Linked DNA regions of Homo sapiens: regions 2 and 3 are each linked to region 1. The links are contacts of gene promoters, found by promoter capture Hi-C in blood cells and fetal thymus (Javierre and others, 2016). All regions are on one chromosome and are shown on one strand. Each heading gives the region's core, a stretch centred on a gene start or on the middle of the fragment in contact. The rest is flanking DNA. Distances are from core to core; before and after follow the strand shown. Region 1 holds the start of HOXA11 (homeobox A11). Region 2 overlaps HIBADH (3-hydroxyisobutyrate dehydrogenase). Region 3 overlaps HIBADH (3-hydroxyisobutyrate dehydrogenase).

What was found. The method cuts DNA at HindIII sites, captures the fragments that hold promoters and counts their contacts. A CHiCAGO score of 5 or more calls a contact.
Region 2: a contact is called between a fragment that was not itself captured here and the fragment with the promoter of HOXA11 in region 1, in 1 of 17 cell types (M0 macrophages). The highest score is 5.2, in M0 macrophages.
Region 3: a fragment that was not itself captured here is called in contact with the fragment with the promoter of HOXA11 in region 1 in 1 of 17 cell types (endothelial precursors); the score reaches 5.0 in endothelial precursors.

Annotation. Positions count from the first base shown.
Region 1 is chr7:27,183,576-27,188,247 of GRCh38, forward strand. It overlaps HOXA11 (homeobox A11), which reads right to left and starts at 1,657. Exons shown (of 2, transcript NM_005523.6): 1 at 861-1,657. The coding sequence starts at 1,569. It overlaps HOXA11-AS (HOXA11 antisense RNA), which reads left to right and starts at 1,833. Exons shown (of 2, transcript NR_002795.2): 1 at 1,833-2,688. RefSeq lists enhancers at 1-138, 139-1,020, 1,903-2,784. The HindIII fragment of the contact is 8,872 bases long and covers 1-4,672 here.
Region 2 is chr7:27,582,184-27,586,746 of GRCh38, forward strand. All of the region lies in intron 4 of HIBADH (3-hydroxyisobutyrate dehydrogenase), which reads right to left. Among named protein-coding and RNA genes, the nearest start is that of TSL, 32 kb to the right of the region's middle. The HindIII fragment of the contact is 587 bases long and covers 1,004-1,590 here.
Region 3 is chr7:27,637,062-27,641,780 of GRCh38, forward strand. The region is part of intron 2 of HIBADH (3-hydroxyisobutyrate dehydrogenase); the gene reads right to left. Among named protein-coding and RNA genes, the nearest start is that of TSL, 23 kb to the left of the region's middle. The HindIII fragment of the contact is 1,357 bases long and covers 2,550-3,906 here.

The DNA of each region.
Region 1 (4,672 bases), core at 407-2,906:
GGCTCCGCCGAGGTGGGGAGGTGGCGGCGGAAGCCCCCTACCCTAGGCCTTCGCTGAGCACCACGGCCACACGGCCATCCTGCACACGGCAGAGCAGCGGCTCTATCTTAGGTAGGGTGAAGGGAAAGGGGGCTTCCCGAAGCTGCGGGCAGGCTCTACTTGCTCCCCCTTTAAAAAAAAAAAAAAAAAAAAAAAAAAGACCCACAAGACAAAAAAAAAATCGCTTTTGACAGATTGAATAACAATTGTGAATAACATGCAGTTGGGCAGAAGGAGGCACGTAATTGCCACCACGCCAGAGGAAAATGGCTTCCTTTGGACAAAAAGGCCAACTTTGGGTTAATTTGTTCTTTTAATATATTGCTAGAGCTAAGCGGGCTACTTTATCTGTTAAACGCGCTCCTAGCGCCGTCGTTAAACAGCGACGCCTTTGAATCCCGGCCGGGACTGGAGTCCCGGCGCAACACATGGCTTTTATAAAAATCTCCGGATTACCTCGCTATCAAAAGCTCCCGAAGCCCTTGCAGGGGGAATTTACAGGCGCCCACCTCCGGCTCCCCAGCCTGGAGCTGGCCCCGAGCGGGGTCGAGCTGCTGGGCTTGGGAGCTGAGAAGGGAAAAAAGGGAAAAGGGGAGTTGTTTTTTTTTGCAGGCATGCCTTGGCCGGTGGGTATTTCACGGCCAATTTCAGCACTCGCCACGTGATCCCGCCTTTTATAACAAAGTTTTGTTGGGGGAAACCTAAAGGCCCTTCATAAACCTTATATGCTTATAAAACAGCATATAAAAATTTAACAGCGGTGCTGCGCTAGATTTCCAACTCCCCTTTCATAAAGCGCAGGGCGCTGCCTTTATACGTACTGGAGCCGCCGGCCTTGTCCTCAGTGTGGCCGGAAGACGACTCGGGGCTGCTGCTGCTCTCGGGGCGCCGCCGCCGCTCTTTCTCCTCTGCTGCCGCCGCCGTCTCCCGGCAGCCGCCGCCGCCGCCGCTGTCCGAACTTGAAGTTGCCGGCGCGCCCGTTGCAGCCGCCGCCGCCGCCGCGGAGGTCGCCGTGGCCGCCGGGGGCCCCTTCTCGGCGCTCTTGTCCCCGGGGTAGTCGGAGGAGGCGAGGTTTTCCGGGGTGCCGTAGGCTGTCTCGAAAAACTGGTCGAAAGCCTGTGGCAGGACGCCGTTCCTGCCCACGGTGCTATAGAAATTGGACGAGACTGCGGGGGTGGGGTGGTGGTAGACGTTGGCCGAGCTCTTGGCCAGCACGTCGCCAGGCACGCCGGCCGCGCTGGGCGCCTGCAGGCAGTCTCTGTGCACGAGCTCCTCCGCGGAGTAGCAGTGGGCCAGATTGCCGCGGGGGTGCCATTTAGTGGCGGGCTCAATGGCGTACTCTCTGAAGGTCACTTCGCGCACGGGTTGGACCTGGGGCAGGTTGGAGGAGTAGGAGTATGTCATTGGGCGCGAAGACGGGGTCTGGGGCAGAAAAGAAGGGAGGCTGGAGAAATCTGGACCCGAGACGTAGTAAGTACAACTTGGCAAATACATGTTAGAGGAGCAGGGACCACGCTCATCAAAATCCATTATTGGGCTACCTTGGGCTCTCCGCAGTAGCCGAGCTTAACATGATTCTCCACTGCAGCTGCCTCTTTGAAGCGGATCCGTGAAGTAGAAATTTGGAGACGTAAGCTGACGTGGAAATCTATCCCCATCCTTAGCAGGGAGGTGCTGGTCATGTGACCCGATGTTGAAATTGACAAGCTGCTAGCTAGTCCGGGCCTTTTCCCCCCCCCTTTCCTTTTTTTTTTTTCCTCCTCTCCCCTCCCTCCCGGCTTCCTTTCTTTGTAGCCACCTCAGGGGAAGCAACAGATCGTCACTCGGTGTTCTCACCGAAAGCACGTAATCGCCGGTGTAACTCATGTTGGCTGGGGGGCCTCCCGGCGCGCGCGGAGAGGCTGGGGTGCGCCCCCATGCAGCATGCTTGTGCTCAATTGCAGGGTCCTCGTTCTCGAGTGTGCAGAGGGCGGTGAGAGCTCAACTCTCGTCCCCACCTCCCACCCGCAGCTCCCCGGGTGGGTGAGGGATGCCCTGGACTGGGGATAGCCAGGTGGGAGTCCGTCGCTGTGTGGCCTGTGGTCTCGGAGTCTGTTCTCCTGGAGTCTCGCATTTGCACCCCCTTCTTCGCAGTCCCCCTCCCATAGACTTGCTCTGGGAAGCGCCTCTGCCTCCGACCCTAGCCGGAACCCCTTCGGGGCCAGAGTTTGAAGCCGTGGATGTGCCTGCCTGGTGGCTTGTCCGATTTGCACGGTGACTTGATTACACTCTCTCATTCATGGTCACTTCCGAAGCGCTTTAGTGCCTTCCGTCCCTAAACCGCCAACAGCCAGAACGGCTTCTCCCCGCGGTTTGTCACTGATCCGCAGGGCCCGGAAGGGCCTTCGTCTTACCCGGGATCCACCTCTCCCCTCATCTTCCCTGCCTACCTCTTCATCCCACCTTCTGTCCTTGGAGAAACTCCCTCCTCCTCGCTGCCTGCCGGGCTTCGGAGTGACTCGGCAGAGACAGAGGCACAGGGGCTGCCCTGCTGCTCACCGGTCCACCCATCTGCCTGGTCTTCTGGAGCTGAGGACTCGGGAAACCATGCAATTGAGGCAAGCCTTGGGCTGCTTTAGAGGCGCTGACATCCGAGGAGACTTCTCCTGGGTATGCTGCATCTTCGTGGGGGGCCCATCAGGCTGCTTACAGAGCTCCAGGGGTGTGGGGAGAATGGAGGTGGAAAGGACGGGCTGAGGGCCAAGGAGAGGTGGCTGAGAAAGGGGTAACCCACCTACTCTCCTACTCTCCTTCCTTGCAATGTGTGAGAGTGAAAGCAAGGGATGTGCAGGGCAAAAACTCAGAGAGCTCTGTGCCTTTCCTACTGCTCATTCCACAGGAGGAATACAATACCAGAGAAAGGAGAGGTGCTTCCCGAACTCCCTGCACCTGGGGAAACAGGGATGTCTTTAAAAAGCTAGGTTTGTGCTAAGGATAGAGAGAGGCCATAGCAATACTCTGAGTCTAGCTTTCTTGAGAAGAGGAAAAAAAATAAATTAAGAAGGCAAAATATGCTCCCCATCCTGCAGGATTGAAGGAGCAATGTTTGGAGGAAGCGAAAGAAAGGAGAGGACACAGAGCACAGAGCAGCCAGGCAGAGCCAGGAGCTGAGAAGGGCCCAGACCTGAGGCCTCCCAACAACTCTCTTCTTGGAAGGATCTGGGATGTTGCTGAAGGAAAATAAAAAAATATGTAAAAAGATAACCTTTTGTTTTTCCCTCTCCAGGAAATAGCCAAAGTTATTTACATATCTTGGGGAGATTTAGAGTATAAACTCTAAGATCTTTGGTATTTAAGTGTCAACATCGATTTATTTATTTATTGCTGAGCTGACTGTAACTGACTCAATAACAAATCTAATCGTGTATTGCACTGGAAAAGAAATATTCTTATTATGTATTTTCTCCAAATAATGGCCTACCATTGCATTTGAATACCTGCTGTAAATATCAATAATATGAAGTAATTACTCTGTAGTCGAGTAAACTAATTTATTAGCATTAATGTTTATGTGGCTCTCCACCTCCCCCCACCACCACCTTTACAAGGATTGCTTATCACAAATCAAGCTACTTGGACACATTGGTTTAATGAACTCTTTATTCAAGATTTGCTACAAGAATTTTCATGTCCTTTGAATCCCTGAGAACTGAACTTGAAATTATTTGTGCATCTTCAGCTTGACATATTTGTCCACTGTGGCTTGTCCAGAGGGCAGCAGTGCTGTGAGTGAGAAGGTCCAGTGGGAAGGAAGGTTATTGGAGAAGAGTAGCCTCAGACCTCCTAAAGCTGGGAAGCACATTTACAGAATTGCCCTGCAGCGAAAAAACTTCTATTTCCAGCAGTGACCAACAAGGCAAAATGTTTGTTTCTCCACAGCATCTCTTTTTTAGAGACAGAATATAAAAGACAGAAGGAGAGGTTTCAAACAGCGGTATTCGAGCTGTTCCCTGGCTTGATTTTGGCTATCCCAAGCTCTCTCTCTGCAGCCCACCCAGTCCACGCCACCCCTACCTTCGAACAAAAGGAATGCATGAAGGGTTTCAGTGACTTTGCCATAACAAAGGCGCCACCATTGCGGGGCTCGCCCCGCCCCTGGGTGAAGGCAAACAAATTCTTGCACTTGTATTAGGGCTTTTAAGACCATAATTGAACCCGGGGGCGTCTAGGAAAACCGAAAACAGTTCTAGACAGACCTGCGGTTTTATAGCAGTTTTGGCAGTCAACTTCAGCTTGTGCCTGAGCAGACGGGGTTGTGGTGGCCCGCCAGCGGGGGATGCCAGGCCACCTCCCCCAGCGGCACGCAGCCCCTCTCTTAATTAGATCGGTTTTCCCCTGGTGTCCGGGAGAGCGGTCCCGGCAGAAAGGTCGGTATGGGGGTGTGCGCTGTTCCGCATAACCACTGCCTCCCATGTCCTCCTCGAGGGCCGAACCGAGAGGGTGCTGGCAGGGCTGGATCCCACGGGTGTCCGCAGGAGACAAAGGCGAATTCCGGAGAAAAGGCTGGGGCTGAGAAAGGCGCTCCGGGAGCGGCTGGCAGGGCAATTCGGCAGGCTGCACCGAAGCCGAGTGCCCGGAGGGACTTGCCGCCCGG
Region 2 (4,563 bases), core at 47-2,546, 400 kb after region 1:
TCCCTTCAACTCTTATACAATAAGCTCTGAAATGCAAAAGAGTTTTTCTTCACTCATTTGGCAGCAAAACTTTACCTGAACTGATTTAAGGCTATAGTCTTCATTTCTTCTGCTTAGTGTGAATATTCATATATTTCATTGCAGAAATTGTTGGTGTTTTGATTACAGGGGGCTGCCCTGGTCTCTGCTGGGGATGTTACATAGCATATGGTAAATATACATATTACCTTGCTATAATTCTAAAACAAAACTCACATGACTCCAAGAGTTTCAAGTAAGGGATTGTGGGACTATGGGAATTTTTTTCTTTTCCTATTTTATGAACAGGAACCTAATTTCTGGCTTAGTCGTAGAATTATTGTAATAGTTCACTCCCACTTACTAAATAATTATGATATACCAGGCACTGGGTTTTACATATTTACATTATTCTAATTGAATGCTGTGGAATGAATCTTTATGGCCTAGAGATCTAAGTGTATGGGACTTTATCCAGGCTTCTCCCCACCTCAAAATCAATCTGGTTTCCCAGAGTAAGAAGCTGGGCGAGCTGCTCTTTGTGTCCGTATGGTGGTTTTTCATTTCTCTTTGGTTGGAGATTATTATATGGATAAAAAGCACAAACCTTACAGTCAGCCAGGCTCATGTCTGAATTAGCTCTACCTCTACAAATGAGTAGGACAAATTCTTTAACCTCTTTATGAGACCATTTCCACATCAGTAAAATGGGGATAACAACAGTACTGACCTCACAGGGCTTTTGTGAGGATTAAATGAGATGATGTCTGTAAAGTACTCAGCAATTTTACAAAATACCTGGCCTAGTACTTAGTGTATAATCATAAGCTACCTTACCTATCTTTACCAATAAGCATCTGCATGATGATAATTTACTTTCTGTATTACAGCTATTATTCCACAAAACTTTTTTTTCACAGAAATAAGATGATATTTACAAGATGTGTTCTTGTTTTCAAAAGACCCTTATTTTGACTTCAAGGGAAGCTTTATTAAGCATTAATTGTCACAGATACACCGCTATTATACAGAATTTTAAAAGCTAAGGAGATGTTAGAGGGAAGTAAAATACATTGAACAGCTTACTCTGTTAACAACCTTGATCTGATTTTTAAAGTAAGGAGAACAAAATTCAGACTTGGCCAATGTTACAAAACTAGTAAAAAGCAAATACCTTCACCAAAAGCCAGAAGGAAACAGTATCTCATGATGCAGTCTAATACTGTTATGACAACTTCAAAAAAACTTTTTCTACCTTCCTTTTCAAGAAAAAGCTACCTAATACCTAGGTATTATAGAATACAATATTAAGCATATTATATATTAATAACTTTTTGTGACATTAATTCATGTATTGTTTCAAAACCTGCTTTTACTACTAACACAACACTGTAAAATATTTTCATGTCAGATATTTATCTACATCACTGATTCATAATATGTAATTTAATCAATTCTCCCTTATTGGACATTTGGGTTATTTCCAAGGCCTCATCATTTTAAACCAGTGGTTCTTAAACTTTTTGGTCTTAGGATTTCTTTATACTCTTTAAATATTTTTGAGGACACAAAAGCTTTTGTTTATGTGGATTATATCTATTGGTATTTACTGTATTAGAAATCAAAACAAATTTTAAAAACATTTCTCAATTGACTTAAAAACATCAATCATAAACCTAATACATATTAACATATTTTGGGAAAAATAACAAGCAACAAAATTTAGTGAGAAGAGTAGCACTGCTTGACAATTTTTCAAATCTCTTTAGTTCTGGCTTAATAGAAGACAGCTGGATTTTCATAGTAGATTAAATGCAGAAGCAGATATATGTTGTTTTGGTTGAAATTAAGAAAAGCTGACCTCATATAGATAATGCAGTTTAAAAAAGTAAGAGAGAATTTTAATAACTTTTTCAGATAATTGTGGATATCCTTCTTTTATATTAAACCCAAACCTGACAAATGGTGGTTTCTTAAAGGCTTGTTGCAATGTGGAAAGAACTTTTTATACTATGTTACATTAAAATCTATCCCTCTATTTTGTACTTTGCATCTTTTATCTAGGCATAATTTGGTAACATCATACAACGGTCAATTGGAAAATACTCGTTCAGTTAGTTATGCAGATATTCTAAATTCCCAGTATACAGTAACAGAAACTCACATTCTTTAACTGCACCAACAATCTTTTCACAAAAGTCTTTAAGGATTAGAAAGTTGTTAAGTTCATATGGTCAGATACAAGTTTTCCAAAATTCTAATTTTTACTTGAAAGATCCAGTTTTATCATTGGTTACAAATACCCTCAGTTGCTTTCCTTGAAGTAAGACTCACTTTTTTCTTTCTATAAGATGTCTTGTTATTCTTTGAAATAAAAATGGTGTTCCACAAAAATGCAGATAGTATAGCTGGCAACTCAAACAATCACCTAAATACTTCTCAAGACAACCCCAATACCAACTGTAGCAGGATCGTTTGGGGCATATTTTCCATTACATCAAATAAAATATACAAAAGACATGTACTCAACATTAAGATTTAATAAAATTAATAATTTTTAATGCTTCATCAAGGAACATTAAGTGGAATGCTTTATGTGTAGCTGTTAAGAATACGATACCACTGTCTTGACTCTTGCTAAGGGCAGCAGTTTTACTCACCATTCCTTTTGCACCATGAGTATTATTACTCTATTATTAGAAAAATAATTTTCACTTTATGGCCTCCTAGGGATCCATGGAGGGTACACTGAGAACCAATGTTCTTAACAATGCTAAAAGTACATTCTTATAGTTAAATCTTTACACATATTCTTACTCTGGGGGGATAAATTCTTAAAGTGGAATTACTTGGTAAATTATATATATTTGTAAAAATATACATACATAAATTACTAGGTAAATTTATAGACCTATAAATATAGAGCTTTTATACATACATACAGGTGTGCATGTTTTTTATATATGTATATATGTGTGTATATATGCACACACATATGTATGTATAAAAGTACGTGTGTATATTTGCATGTGCACACACGTGTGCATATATACACACGTGTGTATGTATGTGTATGTATATGCACACACGTGTGTGTATGTATAAAAGTTTTTGATGCATACTACCAAACTGTTCTCTGAGTTGGTTCAAATAACTTACATCACCAAAGCAGTCTATGAGGCTACACATCTTCCCTATCTATGCTAGGACTAGACTTTTGTATCTTTGCCAATCTGAGGGTTAAACATAATAACTTTTCAGAACCATCCTGACTGCCACAAAGACTGGGTGGCCCCAGATTAGCCAGGAGACACTACATATATTTGCCTTCATTGTGGCTCACATTTCATCTCATCAAAATGAAGATATTATTTACCCTGTCTAATTCACTGGGATGATATGAGAAATAATTAGGAAAAGAATGAAAAAGTAAAAAGCATTTGTAAGACGATTCAAAGAGAAACAGATCAAATGTCAATGACACACACTCAAAGGAAGTGTATAAATTGGTTTCACCAGATTTTGGTTGTCCTAAAAGTGAGTGAGTTTGGGGCTTGTAACATTTAAGTTTTCTGTTTACTGAAAAATGAATCTAGAGTTTTCCTGCCCTTAAAAATGGTTGTATTTTCTAGGTACATGATTTTTTTTTAAATTTTTTTGGAGAAAATGTTATAAGATGGCAAAATTCTCAATTTAAGAACACAGATGTAAACTTTATTAACAGCAGGCAGAAAGCTGGCCTTCTTCCATGCTATTCTATTCTAATCTAAGAAGATAGGTGGTTATGTAATTCCTCCACATAAATTCAGTCCACCTGGACGTGAAGGGGGAGGTGACTTAACAAACTGACTTCACATCAGTTCACGCATTTTCTCTGCAATTTATTCTTTAAAAATGTTTTTTCCCTATGAACAATACATTCAATATAAATTATTAGATTATCACCAATTTCTACAAAAGCAAATATGCCCTTGTTGCAAATATGCAAAAACAGAAGGAAAACACAAAAAGGAACATTCTTTCCATTCCAACTGATAGTCTACATGAGCTCTCAGGAAGTTTGGCAACTGGGTTTCAAGGTTTTAAGAATATTACAATAATCCAGAGCAACTGCAGTGTAGAGCAATGTGGAAAAAAAGAAAGAGAGAAAGAGAGACAGGGAGAGAGAGAAGGAAGGAAGGAAAGAAGGAAGGAAGGGAGGGAGGGAGGGGAAGGGGTTGATTAAAGATGGTTTCATGAATAAAATATATCATGAAACCATCTTATTCTCTGCTAAGACGATTTTACTAACTATAATTTTGCTTCTAGAAATTAAAATTTCCTCAATTCCATCTGAGCAATCAATACTCTAAAAGCATAAAGTGTTATATTCTCTAATTATTTTTACTTTTTAACTCTGTTCTTGACCAGAAATGAAGGGGAAGGGGAAGGGGAGAGACAGAGAAGAAGAAAAAGGAGGAGGAGGAGGAGGAGACAAAAAGAAAAGAGGACAGCACTCTTAGAAAAGGAGGGAAATCACTCTTGTGAGGCGTTAGCTTTGTGGTT
Region 3 (4,719 bases), core at 1,978-4,477, 460 kb after region 1:
AATAAAGATTTTGGAGAAATATGGCATAGATACAGTAACAGCAGCAGCAGCAGTAATAGTAGTAGCAGCAGCAGTAATGGTACTTTCTATGTGCCAGGTTCTTTTGGGCTAAGAGAAAGGTACTCTTATCATCCCCATTTTATATAAGAATAAGAAATTTAAGCAGAGAAAGGTTAAGTAATCTGAAGTCACACAGCTAGCAAATGGCAGAGCTGAGATGTGAGCCCAGACAGTTTGGTTCCGGGGTTTATATTTTTAAATCACTGCATTCGCAATTTATTGATTCAAAATTTCTAAAATATTAAGATCTGATCATTATTATCAGTTACGTTTTTTAAAAAGATGCTAAAAGTTGAAATGATGCATCTGTTTCCAACAGAAACACGAATATAATAAAGGGATAAGCTATAACAAACCCACAGCCAACATCATACTGAATGGGCAAAAGGTAGAAGCACTCTTCTTGAAAACCGGAACCAGGCAAGGATGCCCTATCTCATCACTCCTATTCAACATAGTACTTAAGTCCTGGCCAGAGCAATCAGGCAAGAAATAAAAGGCATTCAAATATGAAGAGAGGAAGTCAACCTATCCCTGTGTGCAGACATGACGCTGTATCTAGAAAACCCCATAGTCTCAGCCCAAATCTCCTTAAGCTGATAAACAACTTCAGCCAAGTCCCAAGACACAAAATCAATGCGCAAAAATAACTAACATTCCTATATACCAACAACAATCAAGCCAAGAGCCCAATCAAGAACACAATCCCATTCACAATAGCCACAAAAAGAATAAAATACAGGAATACAGCTAACCAGAGAGGTGAAAGATCTCTATAACAAGAATTACAAAATACTACTCAAAGAAATCAGAGATGACACAAACATTCCATGCTCATGGATAGGAATAATCAATTTTGTTAAAATGGCCATATTGCCCAAAGCAATTTATAGATTCAGGGCTATTCCTATCAAACTACCAATGACATTCTTCACAGAATTAGAAAAAAACTATTTTAAAATTTATATGGAACCAAAAAAGGAGCTCAAATAGTCAAGGCACTCCTAAGCAAAAAGAACAAAGCTGGAGGCATCATGTTACCCAACTTCAAACTCAAACTTTTCTATAGGGCTACAGTAACCAAAATAGCATGGTACTGGAACAAAACAGGCACACAGACCAATGGGACAGAATAAAGTACAGAAACAATGCTGCACACCTATACCCATCTGATCTTTGGCAAAGTCAAAAAAAAAAAAAAAAAAAAAACAAGCAATAAGGAAAGGACTCCCTATTCAATAAATGGTGCTGGAATAACTGGCTAGCCATATGCAAAAAACTGAAACTGGAACCCTCCTTATACCATACTCAAAATTCAACTCAAGGTGGATTAAAGACTTAAATGTAAAACCTAAAGCTATAAAAACCTGGAAGATAACCTAGGAAATACTGTTTCTAGACATAGGACCTGGAAAAGATTTCAAGACAAAGATATCAAAAGCAACTGCAACAAAAACAAAAATTGACAAATGAGACCTAATTAAACTAAACAGCTTCTGCACAGCAAAAGAAACTATCAACAAAAAATAAACAGACAACCTACCTAATGGGAGAAAATGTTTGCAAACTATGCATCCCACAAAGGTCTACTACTCAGAATCTATAGGGAACTTAAATCAACAAGCAAAAACCAAACAACTGCATTAAAGAGTAGGCAAAGGACATGAACAGACACTTTTCAAAAAAAGACATACACACAGTCAACAAACATGAAAAAATGCTGAACATCACTAATCATTAGTGAAATGCAAATCAAAACCACAATGAGATACAATATCACACCACTCAGAATGGCTGTTATTAAAAAGTCAAAAAATAAGAGATGCTGGCAAGGTTGCAGAGAAAAAGGAACATTTATACACCGCTGGTGGGAATGCAAATTAGATGAGTTACTGTGGAAGCAGTGTGGTGATTCCTCAAAGAACTCAAAGCAGAATTACCATTCAACCCAGCAATCCCATTATTGGGTACATACCCAAAGGAATATAAACAGTTCACCATAAAGACACATGCACCCGTATGTTCATCATAGCACTATTCACAATAGCAAAGACATGGAACCAACCTAAATGCCCATCAATGGTAGACTGAATAAAGAAAATGTGGTACATATACACCATGAAATACTATGCAGCCATAAAAAAGAATGAGATCATGGCCTTTACAGCAACATGGATAGAGCTGGAGGCCATTATCCTAAGCAAACTAATCCAGGGAAAGAAACCAAATACCACACATTCTCACTTATAAGTGGGAGCAAAACACTGAGTACACACAGACACAAAGAAAGGAACAACAGACACTTGAGACTACCTGAGGGGGGAGGGAGGGACAGAGGGTGAGGATCAAAAAACTACCTGCCAGGTACCGTGCTTATTACCTGGGTGGCAAAATAATCTGTACACCAAACTCCTGTGACATGCAATTTACCTATATAACAAACCTGCACAATTACCTCCGAACCTAAAAGTTAAAAAACATCAACTGCAAGCTTCCTGTGGGCCTTGGAGGCTGCCCTACAAACACACTCATTTTCTGAGTCCATCATTCTGCCCAACTTATTTTAATAAATGCTTATATAATAAAAACTTCCCTCTGATTTTGTTTTTAAATTAAAAAAAATAAAGGGATACGGAAACGTCCACATATTTTATGAAAATGACCACAAATAACAAGTTCAACCAATTATAAATGCCTTATCAGAATAGGTTAACACTTAAAGGCATAAACAAGCTATTAAGTAGTCCTGTAAAACATATTAAACTTATCAAAGTTTTTATTTCCCTAATAATCCACGTACAGTCAAGCAAAAGAGATACGTTCTGAGAAATGCGTTGTGAGAAAAGAAAAATAACTTGAAGTAGTCTGAACTATGTGAGGTTTGCAAAATTTATCAGGCCCAGAGAGACGTAAGCATAGGACTTTGGTCACCGCCACCCTCCGTGCCCAGTGGCAATTGCTTAAAGGCATTTTTGTTCCTGACTAGCTGCCTCCCTTATTATTGTCATATTCCTGGAATTTGGAATACAAAGAACAATGTACAGTCAATTAATAATTTATGTTAATGTAAACTCTTGTTAAACAACTTAGGAACTGCCTCTTCTTTTTTCCTTAAAAACCCACCTGGGGCCAGGTGCAATGGCTCACACCTGTAATCCCAACACTTTGGGAGGCCAAGGTGGGCTGATCACTTGAGCCCAGGAGTTCAAGCCCAGCCTGGGCAACAAAGCAAAACCCTGTCTCTACAAAAATACAAAAATTGGCTGGGCATGGTGGTGCACACCTGTGGTCCCAACTACTTGGGAGGCAGGGGCGGGAGGATCACTTGAGTCTGGGAGGTTGAGGCTGCAGTGAGCCATGATCCCGCCACTGCATTCCAGCCTGGGTGACAGAGAGAGACCCTGTCTCAAAAGAAATGAACAAACAAAATCACTTGTAACATCTGCTAATCGTATATATTCAAGGCAACTTGAATTTATGCTTCCAGGTGGCCATTTTCCACCTTTTGGGCCTGAATAAACTCTATACCTAATCACAGTTTCTGAATCATTATTTTAATAAGGTTGACAGTTGTTAGGCTATTTCATGTTGCACGAACATCAGAGAGAGCACTTACAGACCTTCATGGTGTAGTGTATTTCTTCTAGGCTACAAACCTGTACAGCAACGTTAATGTACTGAATACTGTAGGCAACTGTAACATAATGTAAGAATTTGTACATTTAATGATCTATACATACAAAAGGTACAGTAAAAATACTCTATTATAATCCTATGGGACCACCTTTATGTATGCAGTCCATGACCAAAACATCCTTATGAGGTGCATGACTACGGTTTTACTAAAGCTTGAAGAAAAGCCTCCAGGGTCATAATATTCTAAAATACTTCTTCACCTGGAACGGCAGGTGGCCATCTTGCACCTTGAAGGGAGAGAGGAGCCTGATGGAGAAAAGCAGACTCCAGAAGCAAAGAGAAAAGAAAAGAATCTGGCTGTATCTATGTCACTAAATTCAGCTCTGCCAGAGGTCAGGCCACTCCCCAACTCTTCCAATACATGAAACAATAAATTCTCAGTTTTTGCTTTCAAAAAAAACAAAAGCACTTCTTCAAAACAACATCTGATTTTCTTCCCTGCAAATCTCTCACTGAAAGAACAGCTGACATTAGAAATCAACTAACCAGCATTTCTGCAATCTTGGTGGGGTGTTGGGGGATGGGCTTGTTTTCTTTGGCTCTCACTTCATCAGCTTGACTTGATATAGTAACACAGAGGGAGGAAATGGACACCCGTCCTTAAAAATGTATGAGTCAACTCAAATATACGCTGAATTTTTTAACCTTTAAACCCACCCTTCAGGGCACTATTGTGGCAAAAAGTTTCAGAGTTTCACACATACTTTTCCATCTCATCCCAAGTCGTGTCTTGGCCTTATGGTAATAGAATGAAATTCATTTTTTCTTTTATCCAACATTTTAAAAAACTAAACATAGCTATGAAATAAGAATGTTGACATTTTAATATATCAGAACGTATTCATCCAAATTAATATTACCTTTTAAAGTAGTGCTCTTAGGAAATCACACTTGTTCTGATGACATGGCCACTGTTCAAAACACTCTCTAAGCTGCCAACGTAAATCATTTATCAACAAATGC